Linked DNA regions of Homo sapiens: all the other regions are linked to region 2. Evidence: promoter capture Hi-C in 16 types of primary human blood cells and fetal thymus (Javierre and others, 2016). All regions are on one chromosome and are shown on one strand. The core of a region is centred on a gene start or on the middle of the fragment in contact, and the rest is flanking DNA. Distances in the headings are between cores, read along the strand shown. Region 1 has its middle 64 kb from the start of GBP6. Region 2 holds the start of GBP4 (guanylate binding protein 4). Region 3 has its middle 80 kb from the start of GBP6. Region 4 has its middle 43 kb from the start of GBP6. Region 5 overlaps GBP6 (guanylate binding protein family member 6). Region 6 overlaps GBP3 (guanylate binding protein 3). Region 7 has its middle 5.0 kb from the start of GBP3.

Region 1 (3,324 bases), core at 518-3,017, 230 kb before region 2:
TTTGTGTAATAAAATAATGCGTTGTTTTACAGTTGCCATGGACACCTGGTTTCAGGTTATGTTACCTGAGTATGCCTAGATACACTTGGCATGCAACCACGGTGGAACCTAAGTACTTGGACCAAGGAGCAGGGCTGATTTAAGAAGGAGACACCTCAGGGCTTAATCTGTGATCTGATCACATCCAGCCCTGACATCACCTCATGGCACGATGCAGTCAGATCTTACCTCATTATCCGCTGTCTATAAAACCTGCCCCAACCCCCAGATCTGAGAGACAAATTTGAACATTTCTCCCATCTACTTCCTAGTCGACTAAAAATAAACCTTTCCCTCTAAAAAATCCTTGTGCTTCCTTGTTTGGCTTTCCATTGCAATCAGGCAAACGGCCTGCATTGGTTTAGGTAACTGACACTCCCAAGACTCAAGGAGCTGCCGTGCAGCACTATTTTGAAAGCCCAGCCCCCATCAGACTGTATCTTGCTCTGGGGCGAACAGCCCCATCATCTCCACGTCCCTGGAACCCTGCGGACATCTCTTCATTTCCACCCAGAGGGCTGCAACTTTGTCCCGTGGGCTGAATCCAGTGGTGCAGTAAGGAACAGCAGTGCACCACACCAGGGAGGCTGCCCCCAGGACAAAGGGAGCCTAAATGCACACTCCTCAGTTTCTGAAAGCCACTTGCCTGGGGCCACTGCCACCAACAGCAACCCTCTCAACCTTCCACCGGAAGCAGGGCCACCAAGCATCTGCATGTGCCTCCAATGGTCCTGGAGCTGGTCTACCCAGACACTGTTCTGTGTCCTGAGGACAGGCTCTCACACCACCCACCATGCAAACATGCTGCCCAGGGCCTGGGGATCATGCTGCCTCAACTGTAGCTGTGGGCATGTGCATGCAACATCAGGAAGTCTGACAGCAGGCCCAGGTCACCTGCCACTGGGACCCAAGCATGCCATCCAGGGGCCTGGTGATTTCCTGGCCCCACTCACCATAGCCTGCACACTTGCACACCATTGGAGGGTCTAAGGGCAGGAAAGCAACATGCCTCCCTGGAGAGAGCTTGATTCTATTCTGGCATATGCTAGAGAAAAGTACTAAACCAAGTCAGATGCTTTGGAATGTGGTCTAAATATTAATGCTACCAAACTGGGGAGGAAGTAACTCAGTTTTGCTGATTTTTCATTTTCTTATGCTTTATTGGTTAACAAAGAAACCATTATTTGCTTTTGAAGGCAGAGTTATTATTTTCTACCATGAAGTTACTTCAACTCATAAAAATGTATTTTATTTACACCTTTGTAGCAATGGAGCTTGGAAGAAAATATAAAGCTTACCTACATGAACATTTCATCTAGTATTCTGTGGTCTCACCTGGTCTTCTATGAAGTTTCAGTTCAAGTGAGGAAACAGCACCATGCTCTATTATGAAAGGAGGCATTTGCCATGTGATTGGATCAGAGGTAGCTCAAGGTAATAAAAGGCCTCAAAGCAATTAGAAAAGACAGAATTATTAATGTGGATTTAATGGCATTAACTGCTTCCCTCCTTTTTTCTCACTGTGTTATTTTGAATAACCACATAGTTTTTTCAAGATTCTAATATATATAATCTAATCCATATGATTTTTGTACGTGTGAGTTACACAAGGCCGGTATATAAAACTTTGACCAATGTGTCTGTAAATCAGAGTTCTGCAAACTATGGCTTATGGGTGCCACCCTGTTATTGAAAATAAAAATTGATTGGAACATAGCCACACCTATTGGTTTATGTATTTTCTATGGCTGCATTTGCACTACATGCAGAGCTGAGTACTTGAGACAGACTGTATGACCTGCGAAGTCATAAATAGTTACTATCTGGTATTTTCAGAAAAGATTGCCAACCATTGCTATAAAGACTAAAACCTTCTTTTCTGACAAAAATAACTGCAAAAAGAAAACTTAATCAGAAATAAGAAGCCTAGTGAAATACATTGTATTTACAGTTCAGAAATAATTTTTAATTGCTATAAGAAACATCAACCACTTTCCTAGGACTTTTGACACATGAGATAAAGTCTATGTATACTAAGTAAACACAAGAACATTATTAAATGGGTCAAAAATGTCAAAAAACATCCGATATTCTCTTCTGGGGAAACTCAGCAAGATTTCAAGTATGAGTGTTAAGAATTAGAAAAGACTAGCATAAGCTTTAGCATTCTAAATAATAAGTAATTGAATTAATTCAATTCTGTTACACAGCATCTTTTAAAGTCAATCTTTGCAAATTATACATTGCCATAAATACAGTGTGTAATTGGCATTATGTGACTTTGTTTAATCCAGTGTCAACTGTCTAATGGTCTAAAGTGTCCCATTAAAGTTATAATCTGGATGAACTGAACAAGAAGAAAAGTTTTCTTCTTTAGCCCATTTGTTTATCACTCAATTCCTGCTCCTGCTCATGGTTTCTTCCACCTACCTCTGGAGAACATAAAGGGATTCTAGATCTCTGTATAAGGTGGTTTGCTTTAGCTTGAAATCATCAGTGAGGACAATACATGGGCAATGTCCACAAATCACATTATTGCTCATAGACTGTGTAGCCCTGATCTAATGGATAACTGTACATTGTCTTCACTAAGAAGCCAGGGTGGTTGTCCTTGATATTGGGACATTGTAGACTTGGCCAGACCAATGCCCAAATATTTCCCAAGACTTTTACCTAAGACTCTGCTCAGTACCCATTTGTCTACTGCTGGTCATCTGGAAGAATAAACTCCTGGGTGGTACCAGCTCATGAACCTTCCTGAGTTGGTACAGAGGTAAATGCATCTTTTTTGCACAATTTACAGTCTTTTTTTTTTTGGAAAAAACATGATTTTGATCATTGTACTGCATGCCTTTATAAATTTTGGTGTTATGATGCAAGATCTAATTATTATCAAATGTAGTGTCGCTTGTTCCAAATTCTAAAATTGTTTCAATTATGCCTTGGGTAGGGGTGACAGGAAGGCTCTGGTCTTTAGTTTATGGTACATGTCCTTGGTTGTATCATTGTCCTCTGGAGATTCTGTATCTCATTTTGGATTCTTCTGCTTACGTTTTCAAATCTCTCTTTTAGTAGTCGCTCTTGTTCCTAAAGAGGGACAAACGGAGGCTGAATAAAGTGTGGCATCGGGAAAATTGAAATATTCTATCTGGTTTCCACATTCAATGATTTGTTATTTAATTTTCTCTTAAACTTTTCTCTAGCCTTAATTTTCATTATACTTTTGCTTGGGCATCCAGGCTCAGTGATTTCTTCTCCTGCGAATCCTTTAGCTAAGAGAGAGTT
Region 2 (3,385 bases), core at 227-2,726:
TAATTTTAAGGAGGTAGTGGTTGGGGGAACACTTATAGACTTTTATCTGTGTAACACAGACATATTGCTATGTATATTTTCTATGTGCATAGACATATTGCTATGTGCAATCATTATACATACAACTGTGAATTAACAATTTTTTTTGAGACAGTATCTCACTCTGTTGCCCAGGTTGGAGTGCAGTGGGACCACCATGGCTCATTGCAGCCTTGACCTCCTGGGCTCAGGTCATCCTCCCACCTCAGACTCCCAGGTAACTAGGACTATTATAACAGGCACATGCCATTATGCCCAGCTAATTTATTATTATTATTATTTGTAGAGATGGGGTTTCCCCATATTGCCCAGGCTGGTTTCCAATTCCTGGACTCAAGTGATCTGCCCACCTTGGCCTCCCAAAATGGTTGGATTGCAGGAGTGAGCCACCACACCCAGCCTAAATTTCTTCTTGATTAACATTTCCATGATTATCTGAAGTCAGTAACATTGGATTATCTGGAAAGGGGTGCCACTGGTGAAATTCAGGTGTTTCAAACACATTTACCTGGATTCAGTCATCCCTGTACTTTTTCTTCTTCTTCTTTTTTTTTTTTTTTAAGAGAGAGGGACTTCCTGACATTAAAAAATGGTAAGAGAAAAAAGCACCTGATTTCTTATTACTGGTCCTATTTAAAACTTGACTTAGCTTTATTTTCACTTTCAATATTGCTTATAGGAAATAAATGTTAAGTTTTGAATCAAAATCGGCACCAGTAATTTTACCTGATTAAGTGCCTAAAATTTTGTACTTATTAATTTGCAAATGTTTAATCAGACATTACTAAACAAATAGGAAGATCTAAGGGATAGGCACAAATGGGGAATCATTACCCATTTATTTCAGATAGATTTCCCAAACTCTGTTAACAAACTGGCTAGTCATTTTAGGAACTGAGTCCATTTTTCTGGTAGCCTGGGTAAGACTCCTAATTATAAATTATGCTTTTTATGGTCCAATCATCCTCCTGTCCTCCAAAAGATCCAGTTTCAATGAGATGTTTGTGTTTTGAAAGAGAAGTATTTACTTGCCACCACCGCACCTCTGGGCAACAACGTTAGAGGATACATAGATATCCATAGACACACACACAAACACACACATATTTTATGGTTAATGAAAAAATAAAGAAAAGAGATGAGAAACAGAAACATATAAGCATGTAAAAAAAAATAAAAGCAAACAAAAACTCAAATTTCTTCCCTGACAAAATTACCCCTGAGAGACAGGTAGATGAAACAACATTCATGTCTGCTGCTCTATATTCATTTTGGAGGCGAAAGATACCTAAGCTAAGGGTGGAAGAGGGACAAACAAACCTGAGTTTCAGGAGTCTGGTGTGGAGGAACCAGCACTTTCAAGCTCCTTTAGTTTCCTGTCTTGATAAACAGGAAAATCCCCAACAGTCAACTCCCCACAAAGTGCATGTCCTTTCAATTTCGGTTCTCACAGACTCTTACTTGGATGTCTGTAAATCCGGCTGGACTTTCAGCTTCTAAGAACAGTCCGTTTCTCGAGGATCCAGGCGCAGGAGGACAGAGCAATGGGTGAGAGAACTCTTCACGCTGCAGTGCCCACACCAGGTAAGTTTGCTCTTAAGCTTTACCTTTCAAGTATATTTGGGTTATAACAAACAACAACAAATTCCCAAGCGCAGACTGCACACGGGGAGGGTTGGAGACTTCACACTGGCGGGTGACAAAGGCAGTGGAGGAACCTCGCGGGGAAGTCTGATGCTGCTTGAACCCCTGAGTGCTTTGCTCCGTGTGGCCCAGCGTCTCTAGACGGTCCACAGGCGGCGACCAGAGGCGCACCGGTGTCTCCAGGATGCGCTGCTCCTCCTCGGGCTTCCTCCCAGAGCTGTGGCATTTTCTCCTGCGAAATACCATCATCTAGTATACATATACACATTTTTTGCTTGTTTGTTTTATTAATTTTCTGTCCCCCACTAGAATATGTGATACCCTACCTTGTTTTAACCTGAGTTGACTCTCCCTTAGCTGAAAGAGCCAGACAGTCTGCATCTCGGCTCCTTCACTTGCAGCCCCTTACCCACCCGCTTCCTCAGGGACTTAACTTGTGCAAGCTGACTCCCAGCACATCCAAGAATGCAATTAACTGATAAGGTACTGTGGCAAGCCATACCCGCAGTTCCCAGGAATTCGCCCGGTTAACAGCACCCAGAGCCCCCCGCGTTTGTGTCTGGTTGATAAAGCCCAAAGCCCCGCTTCTATCACCTTGTGATAGAATTAAAGCCCCTGCACCTAGTACTGTTTACTTTCCTGTAACCATTTATCCTTTTAACTTTTTGCCTACTTTACTTCTGTAGGATTGTTTTAACTAGACCCCTCCCCCCAACCTCTCCTTTCTAAACCAAAGTATAGAAGAAAATCTAGCCCCTTCTTCGGGCCGAGAGAATTTTGAGCACTAGCCGTCTCTCGGTCGCCGGCTAATAAAGGACTCCTGAATTCGTCTCAGAGTGTGGCGTTTCTCTGTAACTCGCTGGGTTACAACAAATAGAGCTCCAAGAGGCAGAAGTTTGTATCAATTATGTTCCTTGCTTGTTGCTGAGAATCTAGAACGGTGTTAATTAGCACATGGTAGGTACGCAATACTCTTTATTAAATTAATGAGAGAGCAAATTCTTCTGGAATGCCTGGAGCCTTTTCTAACCACTCCTCATCTCCTTTTTGTAACATCCTGCCCCTATTTATTCCAGGAGTGGAATTATTCTGCCATCAGTGCCTTGATTTTCTAATTCTGTTTATTTTATGCATCACCTTGACAAGGCATTTTTAGCGTTCTTGTAAGAATCATAAATAATGTACATAACAGATCTGTACTAGTCTTTGACATGCTAAACTAAATATTTTTCCATTTGAAATGTACAAATTTTATATACATAGAAATTTTATATACCATTAAACGTAGAAATATATTTATATACCATTAAAATGTAGAAATTTTATATACCATTCCACAAGCAAAAAGCTAATATGTATGTGCCTTAGGTAGCCCTTAGGGATGACTTCAAGATCTTGTATTCTACTGAGTATTTTTTTCTGGGTTACAGGTTATCCAGAATCTGAATCCATCATGATGGCCCCCATTTGTCTAGTGGAAAACCAGGAAGAGCAGCTGACAGTGAATTCAAAGGCATTAGAGATTCTTGACAAGATTTCTCAGCCCGTGGTGGTGGTGGCCATTGTAGGGCTATACCGCACAGGAAAATCCTATCTCATGAATCGTCTTGCAGGAAAGCGCAATGGTGAGTGTGGTCCTAGGACAGGAGCCATTTACTTGGAACCAGTGATAACACAGCTGATCACACCCCCTCTAGGGTCA
Region 3 (3,295 bases), core at 441-2,940, 240 kb before region 2:
TAGAGAAAAATATCAAATTCAAGTACAAGAAGATTATAGAACACCAAGAAGATTTAGTCCAAACAATACTACCTCAAGGTACTTAATAATCAAACTCCCAAAGGACAAAGATAAAGAAAGAATCCTAAAAGAAGCAAGAGAAAAGAAACAATGTACAGTAGAGCTCCAATACCTCAGTCAGCAGACTTTTCAGTGGAAATCTTTTCATTGGAAATCTTGTAGGCTAAGAGAGAGTGGCATGACATATTTAAAGTGCTGAGGGAAAAAAAATACTTTTACCCAAATTAGTATCTCCAGTAAAAATATCCTTCAAGCATGAAGGAGAAATACAAACTTTCCCAAAGAAACAAAAGCTGAGAGATTTCACCAACATCAGACCTGTCCTACAAGAAATGCTAAAGGGAGTTCTTCAATCTGAAAGAAAAGGATGTTATTGAGCAATAAGAAATTGTCTGATGTTACAAAACTCACTAGTAATATGAGGTATACAGAAAAACACAGGATATTACCAATAAAAAATAAGAACTACAACAATTATTCAAGACATAGATAGTATACTAAGACATTAAGAGAAACAACAAAAGTTACAAAGTGGGGAGATAAAGTGTAGAGTTTTTATTAGTTTTCTTTTTGCTTCTTTGTTTATGCAATTAGTGTTAAGTAGTCATCAATTTAAAATAATGGGTTATAAGCTAGTACTAGCAAGCCTTATAGTAAGCTTAAATCAAAAAAATATACAATGGATACACAAAAAGTAAAGAACAAGAAATTAAATTGTACCATCAGAGAAAATCAATTTCAGTAAAAGGAAGACAGTAATAATCTAAGGAAGAAAAGAAAAGACTACAAAACAACCAGAAAAAAATAACAAAATGCAGGAGTAGGTCCTTACTTATTAGTAACATTGAATGTAAATGGACTAAACTATCCAATCAAAAGAAAGAGTGCCTGAATGGATTTAAAAAAAAAAAAAAAAAAGAACCGGGCTGAGCGTGGTGGCTTATGCCTGTAATCCCAGCACTTTGGGAGGCCAAGGCAGGCAGATCACGAGGTCAGGAGATCGAGACCATCCTGGCTAACACGGTGAAACCCAATCTCTACTAAAAATACAAAAAATTAGCCGGGTGTGGTGGCAGGTGCCTGTAGTCCCAGCTACTTGGGAGGCTGAGGCAGGAGAATGGCGTGAACCCGGGAGGCGGAGCTTTCAGTGAGTGGAGATCGCGGCACTGCACTCCAGCCTGGGCAACAGAGTGAAACTCCGTCTCAAAAAAATAAAAAAATGAAAGACCCAGGCCAGGCGTGGTGGCTCACGCCTGAAATCCCAGGACTTTGGAAGGCCAAGGCTGGTGGATCATGAGGTCAGGAGTTCGAGACCAGCCTGGCCTACGTGGTGAAACCTTATCTCTACTAAAAATACAAAAATTAGCTAGGTGTGGTAGCAGGTGCCTGTAATCCCAGCTACTCCAGAGGCTGAGGCGGGAGAATTGCTTGAAACTGGAAGGTGGAGGTTGCAGTGAGCCAAGATTGTGCCACTGCACTCTAGCCTGGGCAACAAGAGTGAAACTCTGTCTCAAAAAAACAAACAAACAAAAAAACAAAACAAAACCCGATGATCTGTTGCCTATTGCCTACAAGAAACATACTTCACCTACAAAGACACACATAGAATGAGAATAAAGAAGTAGAAGAAGATATTCCATGCTAATGGAAACCAAAAAAGAGCAGGAATAGCTATACTTATTGTGATGGTTAACACTGACTGTCACCTTGATTGGACTGAAGAATGCAAAGTATTGATCCTGGGTGTGGCTGTGAGGGTGTTGTCAAGGGGGATTAACATTTGAGTCAGTGGGCTGGGAAAGGCAGACCCACTGTTAATCTGGTGGATACCATCTAATCAGCTGCCAGAATGGCCTAAGTATAAAGCAGGCAGAAAAATGTTAAAAGATTAGACTGGCCTAGGCTCCCAGCCTACATCTTTCTCCTGTGCTGGGTGCTTCCTGCCCTTGAACATCAGACTTTAAGTTTTTCAGCTTTGGAAGTTTGACTGGCTTCCTTGCTGCTCAGCTTGCAGATGGCCTATTGTGGAACCTTGTGATTGTGTGAATTTAATACTCCTTTATAAACTCCCCTTCATATGCATATCCATCCTATTAGTTCTGTCCCTCTAGAGAACCCTGACTAATACAGATTTTGGTACTAGGAGTGGTTCTAAAGGAACAGAATATTAAGGATGGAGTTCTGTTTTGGTTTTGAGGTTTCTGGAGTTGGCTGCTTAATATGATTAGACCCCAAAATGCTAAGGACTCTACTTCTAATAGTATGGAGAACACTGATAGTCCTTGGCATGAACTGTTTAGAGAGTTATGCAAAATAAATGCATTTGATACTCCTGATTCATTCCTTATGAGAGGCAAGGAGTTTAGTGATTCTATGCATAATAACTTTGACCATTTGTGGAGAACCATGGAACATAATGAAGCTGGTTAGTTGCTCCTAAGTTTAGTGGACAAAGTGATGAAAGTAAATGATAAATTCAAGGCTTCTGTCTCCTGGATTCAGAAGCAGATACTGAGCCTCAAATCTGCTAAGACTGCCCTGAGTAAGAGAGTTATCTCCTATAAAGAAAGAGCTGAAACTGTGGAAAAACAGACAAAGCTTTTATCATGCAAGTGGCTGACCTGCAATGAAAGGTGCATGCACAGCCTCATGAGGTGTCTATTGTTAAAGTGAGGTCATTGATTGGAAAAGAATGGGAGCCTGCAACTTGGAATGGGGACATGTGGGTGAACCCTGATGAAGCTGGAGACACTGAATTTGTAAACACTGATGAAACATTTTTGCCAGAAGAAACAGCTTCCCCATCCCCAGTAGTGGCAACATCCCTTCCCGAACCCATGCTGCTATCAGCCTTTCCACATTTGTCTAAGGAGATGAACCTTGTGCTGCCTGAGGCAACAGTGATGGCCTTCCGTGAGGCAGTTGCCAGGCAAGATAATGTTGATTCTCCTCAGGAGCCTCTCCCAACACACCTGTTTGCTTCCAGACCTATAACTAGGTTAAAGTCCTGGCAGGCCCCTACACGTGAAGTTGGGATTGTGACCCATGAGGAGGTGTGCTACACTCGAAAAGAACTGCTTGAGTTTTCTAATTTATATAAACAAAAATCTGGAGAACAGCCATAGGAATTGTTATTAAGGGTATGGGATAATGGTGGAAGGAACATAGAGTTGGATCAGGCTGAATATATCGATTTGTGCCCACTAAGTCAAGACTCTGCATTTAATGTTGCAGC
Region 4 (3,129 bases), core at 400-2,899, 210 kb before region 2:
AAGAGGAAACACTTTAGGCCCCAGTCTCTACTAAAAGAAGACAAAATTGGAAGCACTTTAGTGAAGCAGTGGGGTTGAATTTCACTTCTAAGGGACAGGGATCAGTGGGCACTAGGAAATTAGTGAGTCTGGACTATTTCTAAAGAAAGTAATCCATTCTGAAACGAAGTTCACAAGTGTAATAAAAAGTATACTGTTTTCATGAATCTTCATCTTTCAGGCTGAGTTTCAGTTTTTTCTTTGTCTTTAACCATGTCAGTGGGCTGATTACTCTGCTTCTCATTTGCTGTTCTTTCCTTATGAAAAGAACCCATTTGTAGCTCTTTCCATTTCTTAGCTGCATAGGAGCAGGATTCAGCAAGCTCCATCACTGATAATGGAAATGTAATCATGTCTCCAGTCAACACAGAGAATGACAACAAAGAGAAAGACTATCCTAGTGCATTTCAAACTCTCAGTTTAGCCCCTGTCTACTGGTGCCTAATTCAACACAAACACTGTAGTGTCACTTAAGGCCATGCTGTCCCTGATAACACCAGGATTTCATCTGACCTGCGTCCCACTTCAGGCTCATCTGCAGCCTAATTTGGTTCTGACGATGTTTAAGAAAATGAACTGACCTTTATAAATTCCTTCCCATCCCTGCCACAACCTTATGGGTTCCATATCCCTGAGCTGAGATCCTTTGGAGCTAAAGAGAAAGCTGCTTAATGAGAAGTAGTAAAAGTTCTTACCTGTTCTTTTTCTCCTTAGTTCATGAGGAGTGGCTTCTAGCACTTCTGTGTCTCTCACTGGATCCTTGGACTAATATTTTACTGTTCCAACGTTGTAGGGCTGGGATTTCTTCAGTGATGAAATATTTAAAGGTTAAGCATATTTGTAATGGATTTAGAGTAATATGAAACTGAAAGTACTTCATTCAAGTCCACTACCATAAATGAAATTACTGGAGTGTGCCAGTGGGAGGGTTTAATGATTGCTCAACCAGAAGCTTCAAAGTTTTTTGTTGGAAATCTTAGAGACCATTTGTTGTCTAACAAAATGCCCATTAGGTTTTGAATACAATGATACATGTCTCATGGATTGAGTCAGTTTGAGAATCCTAGAATGAGGAGGCATCATGTTAATTTTCAGCTATAATTTCCTAAAATAATAGACACACTCACAATGGAGCTGCCTATTCTTTTAGAGGTGCGGTAAATAAGGAAAGGGCATATTTAACACATTGTCTGACATAAAAAGTCAGACAGCTGGAAAAAAATAAGTAGGGAATTTTTCATTTAGATGGTGGGGATGAGGAAGCATCATTTCCTCACTTTTCAGTTCACTTGGTTTGCAGTCTATGGAATCCTTCTAGTAGATAGTCACAGATAAAATTAATTCACAATTTAGTATTATTACATGATGCAATAATTAATGTGTATATGCCTAGTGATTTCAAAGATTGTCTTGATATTAGCATCCAATGAACAGACTGAATTTCAGGTGTGGAATGTTTTGATAATAAGCTTATTTTCACACAAAGAGCTCTATGCAGCCGGCTGTAGAGTTCATAGCAAGAGGGATTCAGTGATTCAGCTGGGGTTACTGAGTCTCATATCAAATGGAAGCAAGACCTGCAAGCTAGAAAAACAATCAACCATCTGTACATGTGTGTATAGAGAGCAAATATACTGCATGCACAGCACTGTACTAGGTGCTGAGAAGTGTATGAAGATGAATTAAACACAGCCACTGCCCTTAACTGGACTTACTCTAGAGGGTAAGAATGACTTGCACTCAAAGCTTAAAAGCAAAGGCCTGGAGAGGAGTGGAAGAGTGGAGCACTGAACACTGAAATATGTAGCCCAAGATTGCACATTGGAAGACTTCAAACTTTTACCCATGAAGAATTTCCTTTCATGTCACTTATGTGAAGTGGGTTGAGTTTTAGTTTTATAAAAAATGACCTGACAGTAAAAACAGACACATAGACCAATGGAACAGAATAGAGAATTCAGAAATAAATTCACATATTTTAAGTTGCCTCATTTTTGACACAGAGACCAGTAATATACATTGGGGAATGTATGTTTACAATTGGTGCTGGGAAACGTGGATATTAATATGCCATATATCAATTCAGAATGGATTAAGTATTTAAATGTAAGACCCCAAACAATAAAACTACTGGAGGAAAACATAGGGAAAACACTTGCAGACATCTGTCCAGGCAACAATTTGATGGGTAAAACTTCAATAGCACACTCAACAAAAGCAAAAATAGACAAATGAGACTGTTAAATTAAAAGGCTTTTGTGCAGCAAAGGAAAAAAACCAACAGAATGGAGAGTCATCCTGCGTAATGGGATAATGTATTTGCAAGCTATTCAACTTACAAAGGACTAATGTTCAGAATATACAAGAGTCTCAACTCAAAAACAAACAAACAAATACTCTTATTAAAAAATGGGCAAAATATCTGAATAGACATTTCTCAAAAGAAGAGATACAACTGGCTAACAAGTATATAAAAAAATGCTTAACATGTCTTAGATCTGGCACGATGGCTGAATAGGAATAGCTCCGGTCTGCAGCTACCAGTGAGACCAATGCAGAAGGCAAGTGATTTCTGTGTTTCCAACTGAGGTACCCTGTTCATCTCATTGGGACTGGTTAGGCAGTGGGTGTAGTCTTCTGCATTTCCGACTGAGGTACCCTGTTCATCTCATTGAGACTGGTTAGGCAGTGGTGCAGCTCACAGAGAGCGAGCAGAAGCAGGGTGGGGCATTGACTCACCTGCGAAGTGCAAGGAGCCAGGGACCTCCCTCCCCCAGCCAAGGGGAGCCCTGAGGGACTGTGCTACCCACCCAGATACTACGCTTTTCCGTGTGGTTTTTGCAATCTGCAGACCAGGATATTCCCTCGTGCCTATACCACCAGGACCCTGGGGTTTCAAGCACAAAACTGGGCAGCTGTTTGAGAAGACACCGAGCTGGCTGCAGGAATTTTTTTTTTTCCCCTAGTGGTGGAATCCCAGCAAGACAGAATCATTCATTCTCATGGAAAGGGGGCTGAAGCCAGGGAGCCAAGTTGTCTTGCTCAGCGGGTCCCACTCCTACGGAGCCCAGCAAGCTAAGAAACACTGGC
Region 5 (3,117 bases), core at 148-2,647, 180 kb before region 2:
TTCTAAGAGTTGTATGTCAGCATGGATCTACCTCAGGGTGTTTGGATGGTACTAGAGCTCCTGGTAATATGTGGTCTTGGTGAAGGAAACCAGCTGCTGTTCACATCAAATACACTGTGTGGAACATATGTTTAACTTCTTGAGATTACTTTTAAAATCTCCCAAAACAGCAGCTTCGACCCTATTTATATTCCCCAAGGACTTGTAGGGATCATAGTCAACCTTACCTCTCCAGAATCTAAGTATAGAGAATATAGAGAAGAATTCCAAGTCTTACTGAAACAATTAAGAAAAAAAGGATTCAGGGCTTTTAGTGATTGCCAAGCAGCAAATGGTGATGTGCTTCCTTTCATGATGTTGCTGTAACCTTCACCAGCCCTTCCTGAGGTACCTGGGTGAGGACCGTCTGGCCTGCTGAGGCCAAGGGCAGACTTACCTTCTGCGTGTGCTCCAACATCATAATCTGCTCTCTCAGTAGGTGTTCTCTCTCCATCTGCAGCTTCTCCTTCAGTTGGGCTATGTTTTCCTTGCGACTCTTATCTTGAGCCTCCATCTGTTGCTGCTGCTCCTGTAATTTCTGTTTTAAAAGTTCCTGTTCCTTCTCAGCTGCCTCCTTCTTGGCCCGATCCACTGCTCCATGAAGGTATTAGAAAGAGAAGAAAATAATAGGTGAAGATTCATCTCCACTTTTCTGAGCTGAGACTAAACCAAATCTGAAAGGCAGGGTGAGAAATCACAGAATTCACCCAGGTCCACACCATTAAGAGCGCATTTGAGAATGTGATGGGAAAGGCTCTGCCTGTCTGGCTGATGTACAATCATAGCTCCCCTTGTTATTTTAAGATTTAGCAGAGTGTGTGTTCCACAGAAGAGGAAATTCCTCATTTTGGGAAGGTTTTCCTGTTAGATCTGTTAGAGGGCATTGTATAAACGTACCCCTCCTGTGTAAGCTGAGCCCTGCCCCATACCTGCTACTGCCTTCTCTCTATCAGTGAGGGCTTTATCTGACTGCAAGATGGATTCCTCTATCACCATCTGTGACTCCAGGAACCTCTGGAAGACCTCTTTTGCCTATGGAAGGAAGAAAAAGCACTTAGATTTCTTTGAAAATCTATGTTCTGGGTATTAGTGTTGCAAGAACAATTATGGTCTTGTAACTTTTGCTTTATGCCTAAAATTCTAAAGTGGCCCCCTACAAAGTGTGCGGGCTCTTTAGGGTGACCAGAGCCCCTCCTCAATTCCTGCTTCCTGTCTCCCTCCAGTGCCTTTCCCACTGCTGTAATATCTCCCTGTACCCGTTTTGGGTTCCGGCCAGGCAGAACTATGTGCACAGGTGTACAAACTCCCAATCTCTGATGCTTATACATGTCTGTCTTCCAGTGTGCAATGCTGCCTCTAATCTATGCTGTTGCTTTCTCCTGCCACTTGCTGGCTAGAACTTTAGGCAAGTTATGTAATCATCCTTGGGTACTAAGTTCAGATCTGTAAAATTTCCAAATAAAGGTGCTTCTTAAAGTCATTAGGAAGATGAAATTAAAATGTCTGGGGAAGAATTTAACAGTATACTGTAGGTAATAACAGCTCGTGAGTTAGTTGTATTATTACTACTATTATGTTTATTACCACCACCTAGGTGGTAATTTTCATTCTGTCTCTCCTGGATTTCTGAATACTATACTCTTTGTTTTGGAATAAAAATTTTTATTCTAAGAAATAAATATTAATTAGTGGACATTGAAAGCTAAGGCGTTATGCTATCCCTCTGCTCTCTTATTACCCACGGCTGGTGCTGAAGACTCCATTCACTCTATCCTATAAACTTCCCCATGCTCCCCTTATTCCTTACCTTTACTCCTTTCCTGGGAACTTGCCAATAGTCCTGTTCAATCCTTTCCTTTGTTTCCATGTAGAGCTTGTGCCCTCCAGGAACAGAGAAACTTCCTGCTGAGATACTTTCCATTAGTCCCTTTGAGAGCTCATTGAGTTTAGCCTGGCAGTATTGAACAGATGACTCTTCATTCTGCAGCAAGAAATCCCCCTTCTTATTCATTGTGGTTTCCTGCAAGGGAAATGTAGAGAGATGTCACCAGAAGAAACATGGAGGAGATGAAATTCTAAAGAATCTGGTGGTAGAGTCAATCTAACTGTGGTCCTCATGAGAAAAACATTCTAGTGGAGTAGATGTGGAATCAGAAACACAAAACTTCATACATTTACAATGCTAGAAATTCTCTTCAAGGCTATGGAAAAGTTCATTAATCTTCCTGAGCTTCAGGTTCCTTATCTGTGACATGATGAGACTACATTCCATAATCTCTATGGTTTGTTGCAATGGTATCATCCTGTGTTCCTGTCCTCAATGGTACAAGGATACAAGAAGGAGCAATGTAAGTTGAACAATGGCCCGGAATTACGATCTGGTAAGAGAATCTTTGTTTCCTGGGAAAGGTAAACTATGCACAGAAAAAGTGCACTGCTCAGGGATGACTTGTGCGTGTTCAGAGCAGGCCTGGAATCCTTAGAAGTGTTCACTTGAGGATCTTAAGTGATCTGTATTGATTTTACCTCAGTTATCAGAAGATTTTCTAGTTAAGTGCTTATATGTAGTCTTTTGAAACTCTATCCCTCATGAGAATCCACAATAAGTTATTCCTCAGTGACAGATGAGCATTGGTGACAATAAAGGCAACTATAGGCTTCATTCTTCAAGGGGAAGGATGATGAACAGTAATGACTAAGGCAAATTACCATGAACTTCTTCTGGAATTCCTGATTTTCATCCTTGAAGGAGTGCTCCATGAAGATTGCAATGGCTTCCCTCTCACAGGCCGCATGCATGTCCAGCAGCTCCTGGAGCGTGTCTGTGGGGAGCTTCACTCGCTGGGCCATCTGCTGGCTGTAGTAGTCAGCTGCCCTCTGCACGGCCGCTGAGTTCTCACGCTGGGCCAGAGTTATCACTGCATTCTCCAGACAAGGCACTGCTCCACTGTTGATGGCCTCTACATAAGTCACTGCCAGAGTTCCCAGACCTAAATGAACCAGGAGATTTAGGGGCTAAATATGAAATTAAAGCTCAGTGGGATCCTAGGCTACATTTCTGAGCACACACATGCACTT
Region 6 (3,459 bases), core at 264-2,763, 190 kb after region 2:
TAAAAAGTCTATAATGCATAGGGAAGATTTGAAGTCAAATATATTGTTAAGATTTCCCACAAAGGTTTTGTATAATTAATAGGGGGAAAAAAGCAAGACCTTCATCAATAGAGCAGAAGGCATACGCTGAAACTCTTTTGGCTATAGAAAACCCAGGAGAAATAATCACACAGCCCAAATGCCCAGAAAAACTATAATTAAAATCAAGGGTAGAGAAAATTTCAAGAAAAAAACTAAGTACTAAATAAATCAATGCATGTGGAAACTAGATAGCTTACAGAGATTTACTTAATGCTACACTTATTTAGCCTCCATTTGTCCCTTTTTAGGAACAGGCCCGAGTACTAAAGGAGAGATGCCAAGGTGAAAGTACCCAACTTCAAAATGAGATACAAAAGCTACAGAAGACCCTGAAAAAAAAAACCAAGAGATATATGTCGCATAAGCTAAAGATCTAAACAACAGAGCTTTTCTGTCATCCTAACCCAAGGCATAACTGAAACAATTTTAGAATTTGGAACAAGTGTCACTATATTTGATAATAATTAGATCTTGCATCATAACACTAAAAGTTTACAAGAACATGCAGTTCAATGATCAAAATCATGTTTTTTCCTTAAAAAGATTGTAAATTGTGCAACAAAGATGCATTTACCTCTGTACCAACAGAGGAGGGATCATGAGTTGCCACCACTCAGAAGTTTATTCTTCCAGACGACCAGTGGATACTGAGGAAAGTCTTAGGTAAAAATCTTGGGACATATTTGGGCACTGGTTTGGCCAAGTGTACAATGGGTCCCAATATCAGAAACAACCATCCTAGCTTCCTAGGGAAGACAGTGTACAGTTCTCCATTATATCAAGGCTACAAGGTCTATGAGCAATAATGTGATTTCTGGACATTGCCCATGGATAATTCTCACTGATGGATCTCAAGCTAAAGCAAACCATCTTATACAGAGATCTAGAATCTTATATTTTCCATAGGAAGGTAAAGAAATCATTAGCAAGAGTAGGAATTGAATCATAAACAAATTGGCTAATGAAGAAATCTTTTCTTTCTTGTTCAATTCATCTAGATTATAACCTTAATGTGACACCTGAGACCTTTAGACAGTTGACCCTGAATTAAATAGTCACATGGTAACAATTATGCACTGTGTAATTTTAGTAATGTATAACATGCAATGATGCACTTTAACTGAAGATAGAGACTATGTTAGAAAATTGAACTAATTTAATTATTTGATTGTTTTAATCCTAAAGCATAAGTTAGTCTTTTCCTGATTCTTAAAGGTCATACTTGAAATCCTGCCAATTTTCCCCAAAGGGAATATGGAATTTTTTTGACTTTCTTTTGAGCAATAAAATAATTGTCTTGCCATTACTTAGTATATGTAGACTTCATCCCAATTGTCAAACATCCTAGGTAAGTGGTTGACATTTCTTACAGCAATTACAGATTATTTTTGAACTAGAAATAAACTAAACTAGAAATAAAATAAGTTTCACTAGTTTTTTTATTTCCATTTTTTTTTTTTTAGTTTTTCACCAAATAATAAGGTTTGAGTCTTTATAGCAGTGGTTGGCTAACTTTTCTGTAAAATACCAGATAGTGATTATTTATGGCTTTGCAGGTCAACTGTCTCAACTACTAAACTCTGCATACAGTACAAATGCAGCCATAGACAATACATAAGTAAATGGGTGGGGCTATGTGCCAATAACACTTAATTTTCAAAACCAGGTGGCACACACAAGCTATAGTTTGCAGACCTTTGTTTATAGAAACATTGGTCAAAGTTTCATTTTATATCTGCCTTATTTTACTTACATTTATAAGAATCATAAGGATTAGATTGTATATGTTAGAATCTTGAAATAATTATGTAGTGTTTCAAAATATTACACGATGAATCCCAAGAGGACCCACAGACCCTCTGAAGGAGGCAGACTGCTCCTGCAGGACCCAGGAAACACTCCAAATATTCTGACTGCCCCAACTGCAGAAGTGGGAAAGGGAGACCCTCCTCTCTGGAACACACACCCCCACTGGAGAAGCTGAAGGTTTGTGTGCAGGAGGAGTTTCCGACTTTACCTGAAGCTGAGTCAAGTTAGAGAGCCGAGCAAAATACAGGGGTAGAGGAAGCAGTTGGAAGGCCCTGGGAGCTCACTGTGTCCCCAGGCAGGCCATTCCTGCCTGGCACCACAGGGATCTATCGGGAGGTCAGCCAGAGGAGCAACAGGTAAAACTCCACAGAAAGAAGAAATTCTCCAACCAAACTTTGTAACAATTTGAATGGGGCGAGAAGCCTCCTGCCAGAACTCGGGGAGGGCACAAATCCAGCATGCAAACTTCACAGGCTGGTGAAGAACTAAAGTCCTTTTCTTTTTGGCTGAGCAGAAAGCCTCAGCCAAATTTTAAGCCCGCCCCTCTTGCCCTCTGCCTGGAAACAGACTCAGAGCTGTTGGCAGGGAGAAGGGCACAGTGGGAGTGAGACCGGCCTTCCAGTTTGCATCGGAGCTGGGTGAGGCCTGTGACTGCCAGCTTCTCCCACTCCCCTGACAACCTGCATGACTCAGGAGAGGCAGCCATAATCCTCCTAGGTACACAACTCCAGTGACCTGGGAATCTCACCCCCATCCCCCACAGCAGCCATAGCAAGATCCAGCCATGGAGAGTCTGAGCTCAGACACTCCTAGCCCCGCCCTGACCTGATGGTCCTTCTCCATCCACCCTGGTAGCTGAAGACAAAGGTCATTTAATCTTGGGAGTTCTAGGACCCTGCCCACCACCAGTCCCTCTCCCACTGATACTTTCTGGAAAGTGCCACCTCCTTTCAGGAGGCCAACCAGCACAAAAATAGAGCATTAAACCACCAAAACCAAGGACCCTCATGAAGTCCATTTCACCCTCCACCACCTCCACTGGAACAGGCACTGGTATTGTAGGAGGACAAGCCACCAACAAAACCCCTCAGACACTGAGTTAAAGAAGGAAGGGCTTTATTCAGCCAGGAGCTTTGGTAAGACTCACGTCTCCAACAACCGAGCTCCCTGAGTGAGCAATTCCTGTCCCTTTTAAGGGCTCACAACTCTAAGGGGGTCCACGTGAGAGGGTCGTGATTGATTGAGCAAGCAGGGGGTACATGACTGCGGGCTACATGCACTGGTAATTAGAACGGAACGGAACAGAACAGGACAGGGATTTTCACAGTGCTTTTCTATACAATGTCTGTAATCTGTAGATAGCATAACCAATTAGGTCAGGGGTCAATCTTTAATTACCAGGCCCAGGGTGTGGCGCTGAACTGTCTGCTTGTGGATTTCATTTCTGCCTTTTAATTTTTACTTCTTCTTTCTTTGGAGGCAGAAATTGGGCATAAGACAATATGAGGGGTGTTTTCTTCCCTTAGTATCCATGGCTCAGAGACCCATAGATGGTCCACATCACAGGAC
Region 7 (3,527 bases), core at 66-2,565, 170 kb after region 2:
AGGCATGGACAAGGACTTCATGACTAAAACACCAAAAGCAACGGCAACAAAAGCCAAAATTGACAAATGGGATCTAATTAAACTAAAGAGCTTCTGCACAGCAGAAGAAACTTCCATCAGAGTGAACAGGCAACCTACAGAATGGGAGACCATTTTTGCAATCTACCCATCTGACAAATGGCTAATACCCAGAATCTACAAAGAACTTAAACAAATTTACAAGAAAAAAACAAACAACCACATCAAAAAGTGGGCAAAGGATATGTCTTATTTTGAGAGAAGTCTCAAAAGAAGACATTTTTGCAGCCGACACATGAAAAAATGCTCATCATCACTAGTCATCAGAGAAATGCAAATCAAAACCACAATGAGATACCATCTCACACCAGTTAGAAAGGCGTTCACTAAAAAGTCAGGAAACAGCAGTTGCTGGAGAGGATTGGAGAAATAGGAATGCTTTTACACTGTTGGTGGGAGTGTAAACTAGATAAACCATTGTGGAAGACAGTATGGTGATTCCTCAAGGATCTAGAACTAGAAATACCATTTGACCCAGCCATCCCCTTACTGGGTATATACCTAAAGGATTATAAATCATGCTACTATAAAGACACATGCACATATGTGTTTATTGCGGCACTATTCACAATAGCAAAGACTTGGAACCAACCAAAATGTCCATCTATGATAGACTGGATTATGAAAATGTGGCACATATACACCATGGAATACTTTGCAGCCATAAAAAAGGATGAGTTCATGTCCTTTGCAGGGATATGGATGAAGCTGGAAACCATCATTCTAAGCAAACTATCACAAGGACAGAAAATCTAACACTGCATTTTCTCACTCATAGGTGGGAATTGAACAGTGAGAACACTGGGACATGGGGTGGGGAACATTACACACCAGGGCCTGTCGTGGGGTGGGGGGCAGGGGGAGGGAAAGCATTAGGAGAAACACCTAATGTAAATGACAAGTTAATGGGTGCAGCAAACCAACATGGCACATGTATACCTATGTAACAAACCTGCACATTGTGCACATGTACCCTCTAACTTAAAGTATAATTTAAAAAGTGCATGCAATCCTTTATCTTTACTTTTCATAATAGCTATATTGTCATATGATATAGTTATACTACTGTCCACAAATACTGTCCAATAGAATGTTGCAAACATCCAGAACGAGTATATTCCACTTTCTCACAGAAAGATTGTTTTCAGGTGGCAAGAAATGAAAACATTTACAAACTTTCAGGGTTTTCTATAATACCTTCAACTCATAATAATCGTTAATTGATTAGTATTTGTCCAATCTCATGAAAAACTTACAATACTGGACTAGTATTTGGGGGTCTGGTTTTTTTCCAAATATTTTTATATTTTTTGTTTTGATTAATTCATTCTACTCTATTTTGAATACAGATGACACATTTGTCTTTTTTTGATTTTGGCTTTTTTCCAGATAGTCATGTAAAAATGAATCAAATTCAGCAAATAGTTTCATGATTCTCATGAAATATCCATTATTCCAGGAATGTCACTTTCAATCATAACCTCATGTAGACCAAGCCTCAATTAAAATACAATAATTGCCACTATTCATTCAAAATGATAACAAATGTTCTTCAACACTTTGGTAAGTGCTTTTATTTGATTTACATTGAATTAAAAAAACTCAAGCCTTCATATGCTCCGTGGAGTCTTTAACATATTTTGAGAGTTCTTCTATATTCACTCAGTTGGAAAACCATGCCTTGTAAATAAATCTGTTCTTGTAAATATTATTTACCAACTAAACACCATATGCAGACTTTTAGTTCTGGGATATGCCAACCAAGATCTCATAATAGTTTGAACATTTTAAAATTTGTGAATAGTGTTTATTATCTCAGGGACAAATGCACGAGTAGGTAGTCCCAACACCGAGTGCTCCAGTCCCTCACCTTAAAGAGCTTCAAGAATGACACCAAAGGATTCCACCAATCCTGAATCAACCTTCTATCATTTCCCAGTAAAGTAGATGGGCAGAGAAATTCAGATATTAACTACTAATATTTGCTTCTTAAGGACACATATCCATGTTACACTTGCAAGAACAGGTCTAAAGAGTCTGTTACATATTGTTTTCCCTCCAAGAAGGAGACACAGAATTCCAGCTGTTAACTATGCAGCCATAAAAAGGAACGAGATCATGTCCTTTGCAGGGTCATGGATGGAGATGGAAGTTGGAAGCCATTATCCTCAGCAAACTAACACAGAAACACAAAACCAAACACCCTGTGTTCTCACTTATAAGTGGGAGCTGAATAATGAGAACACATGGACACATGGTGAGGAACATACACACTGGGGCCTGTTGGGGTGGGATTTTGGGAAGGGACAGCATTACGAAGAGTAGCTAAGGTATGCTGGGCTTAATACCTAGGTGATGGGATGATCTGTGCAGCAAACCACCATGGCACACATTTACCTGTGTAACAAACCTGCACATCCTGCACATGTACCCCTGAACTTAAGAGTTGAAGTATAAAAAAATAAATAAATAAAAAACTAGAAAAAAAGTCTATGGCCTAAGAAGGACTTTACACAAATATACTGTGGCTCTGTAAAATAATTTCTCTTTTTTAAGAAACACACACTGAAGTTTTTAGGTATAAAAAGCCATTATGTCTGTCACTAACCCTTGAATAGTTCAGACAGAAAGAAAATAAATTTAAAATGATAACATATGGGGAACTGAGGGGAAGACTGTACAGAAACTTTGTACTATTTTGCCACTTTTCTGAAGTCTAAAATTATATCAAAATAAAACTTCATAGGACATTATAAAGTTGAGAATGTTCCCTTTTGTTCTCAGTGTGTTGACTGTGTTTATCAGGAAGCGGTATCAAATTTTATCAAATGCTTTTCCTGTGTATATTGAGATGATTATATGGTTTTTGTCCTTCATTCTGTTGACATGGTGTTTTATATTAATTGATTTTCACATGTTAAACCATACTTGCTTTCATGGGATAAATCCCACTTCATATAAGTTTGGTATACTTTTGTGGGATTTGGTTTGCTAGTATTTTATTGAGGATTTTTGCATCCTTTTTCATAAAACGTAGTGGTCTACACTTTAATTATGATGTCTTTGGGTTTCATAGCATTGTAATATTGCCTCAAACTGAATGGGAAATTGTGCTCTTCTATTTTTGGTCAAGGTTGTAAGAAACTTGTATAAATTATTCTTTACCTGTTTAGTAGAAGTAGCCAGTGAAGTCATTTGGGGTTATGCTTTTCTTGTGGTAGTTTTATGATTAATAATTGATATGGTTTGGCTCTGTGTCCCCCCCCAAATCTCACCTTAAATTGTAATAATCCCCAAGTGTTAAGGGCAGGACCAGGTGGAGATCATTGAATCACAGGGTAGTTGCTTCCATGCTGTTCTCATGACAGTGAGTGAGTTCTCATAAGATCTGATGGTTTCATAAGGGGCTTCCCCATTTGCTCTGCTCTCATTCTCTCTCCCGCCTTATG

What was found. The method cuts DNA at HindIII sites, captures the fragments that hold promoters and counts their contacts. A CHiCAGO score of 5 or more calls a contact.
Region 1: a fragment that was not itself captured here is called in contact with the fragment with the promoter of GBP4 in region 2 in 4 of 17 cell types (activated CD4 T cells, M1 macrophages, total CD8 T cells and 1 more); the score reaches 7.7 in activated CD4 T cells.
Region 3: a contact is called between a fragment that was not itself captured here and the fragment with the promoter of GBP4 in region 2, in 1 of 17 cell types (activated CD4 T cells). The highest score is 5.1, in activated CD4 T cells.
Region 4: a contact is called between a fragment that was not itself captured here and the fragment with the promoter of GBP4 in region 2, in 4 of 17 cell types (activated CD4 T cells, M1 macrophages, total CD8 T cells and 1 more). The highest score is 7.9, in activated CD4 T cells.
Region 5: a contact is called between a fragment that was not itself captured here and the fragment with the promoter of GBP4 in region 2, in 4 of 17 cell types (activated CD4 T cells, naive CD8 T cells, monocytes and 1 more). The highest score is 8.1, in activated CD4 T cells.
Region 6: a contact is called between a fragment that was not itself captured here and the fragment with the promoter of GBP4 in region 2, in 2 of 17 cell types (naive CD4 T cells and naive CD8 T cells). The highest score is 5.5, in naive CD4 T cells.
Region 7: a fragment that was not itself captured here is called in contact with the fragment with the promoter of GBP4 in region 2 in 5 of 17 cell types (activated CD4 T cells, non-activated CD4 T cells, naive B cells and 2 more); the score reaches 6.6 in activated CD4 T cells.

What each region holds. Positions count from the first base shown.
Region 1 is chr1:89,425,932-89,429,255 of GRCh38, reverse strand. No RefSeq gene overlaps it. Among named protein-coding and RNA genes, the nearest start is that of GBP6, 64 kb to the right of the region's middle. The HindIII fragment of the contact is 865 bases long and covers 1,335-2,199 here.
Region 2 is chr1:89,197,033-89,200,417 of GRCh38, reverse strand. GBP4 (guanylate binding protein 4) reads left to right here and starts at 1,476. Exons shown (of 11, transcript NM_052941.5): 1 at 1,476-1,623; 2 at 3,114-3,308. The coding sequence starts at 1,584. It overlaps LOC107985076 (a long non-coding RNA gene), which reads right to left and starts at 2,071. Exons shown (of 3, transcript XR_002958332.2): 1 at 2,010-2,071; 2 at 1,360-1,915. RefSeq lists a silencer at 1,378-1,672. The HindIII fragment of the contact is 3,654 bases long and covers 1-1,642 here.
Region 3 is chr1:89,442,131-89,445,425 of GRCh38, reverse strand. No RefSeq gene overlaps it. Among named protein-coding and RNA genes, the nearest start is that of GBP6, 80 kb to the right of the region's middle. The HindIII fragment of the contact is 1,940 bases long and covers 721-2,660 here.
Region 4 is chr1:89,405,364-89,408,492 of GRCh38, reverse strand. It overlaps the pseudogene GBP1P1. Among named protein-coding and RNA genes, the nearest start is that of GBP6, 43 kb to the right of the region's middle. The HindIII fragment of the contact is 277 bases long and covers 1,511-1,787 here.
Region 5 is chr1:89,381,606-89,384,722 of GRCh38, reverse strand. It overlaps GBP6 (guanylate binding protein family member 6), which reads right to left. Exons shown (of 11, transcript NM_198460.3): 7 at 2,749-3,029; 8 at 1,847-2,059; 9 at 969-1,071; 10 at 437-630. Among named protein-coding and RNA genes, the nearest start is that of GBP6, 19 kb to the right of the region's middle. The HindIII fragment of the contact is 8,356 bases long and covers 1-3,117 here.
Region 6 is chr1:89,004,723-89,008,181 of GRCh38, reverse strand. GBP3 (guanylate binding protein 3) reads left to right here. Exons shown (of 11, transcript NM_018284.3): 11 at 330-1,502. The coding sequence ends at 458. Among named protein-coding and RNA genes, the nearest start is that of RBMXL1, 14 kb to the right of the region's middle. The HindIII fragment of the contact is 5,370 bases long and covers 1-3,459 here.
Region 7 is chr1:89,026,077-89,029,603 of GRCh38, reverse strand. No RefSeq gene overlaps it. Among named protein-coding and RNA genes, the nearest start is that of GBP3, 5.0 kb to the right of the region's middle. The HindIII fragment of the contact is 5,231 bases long and covers 1-3,527 here.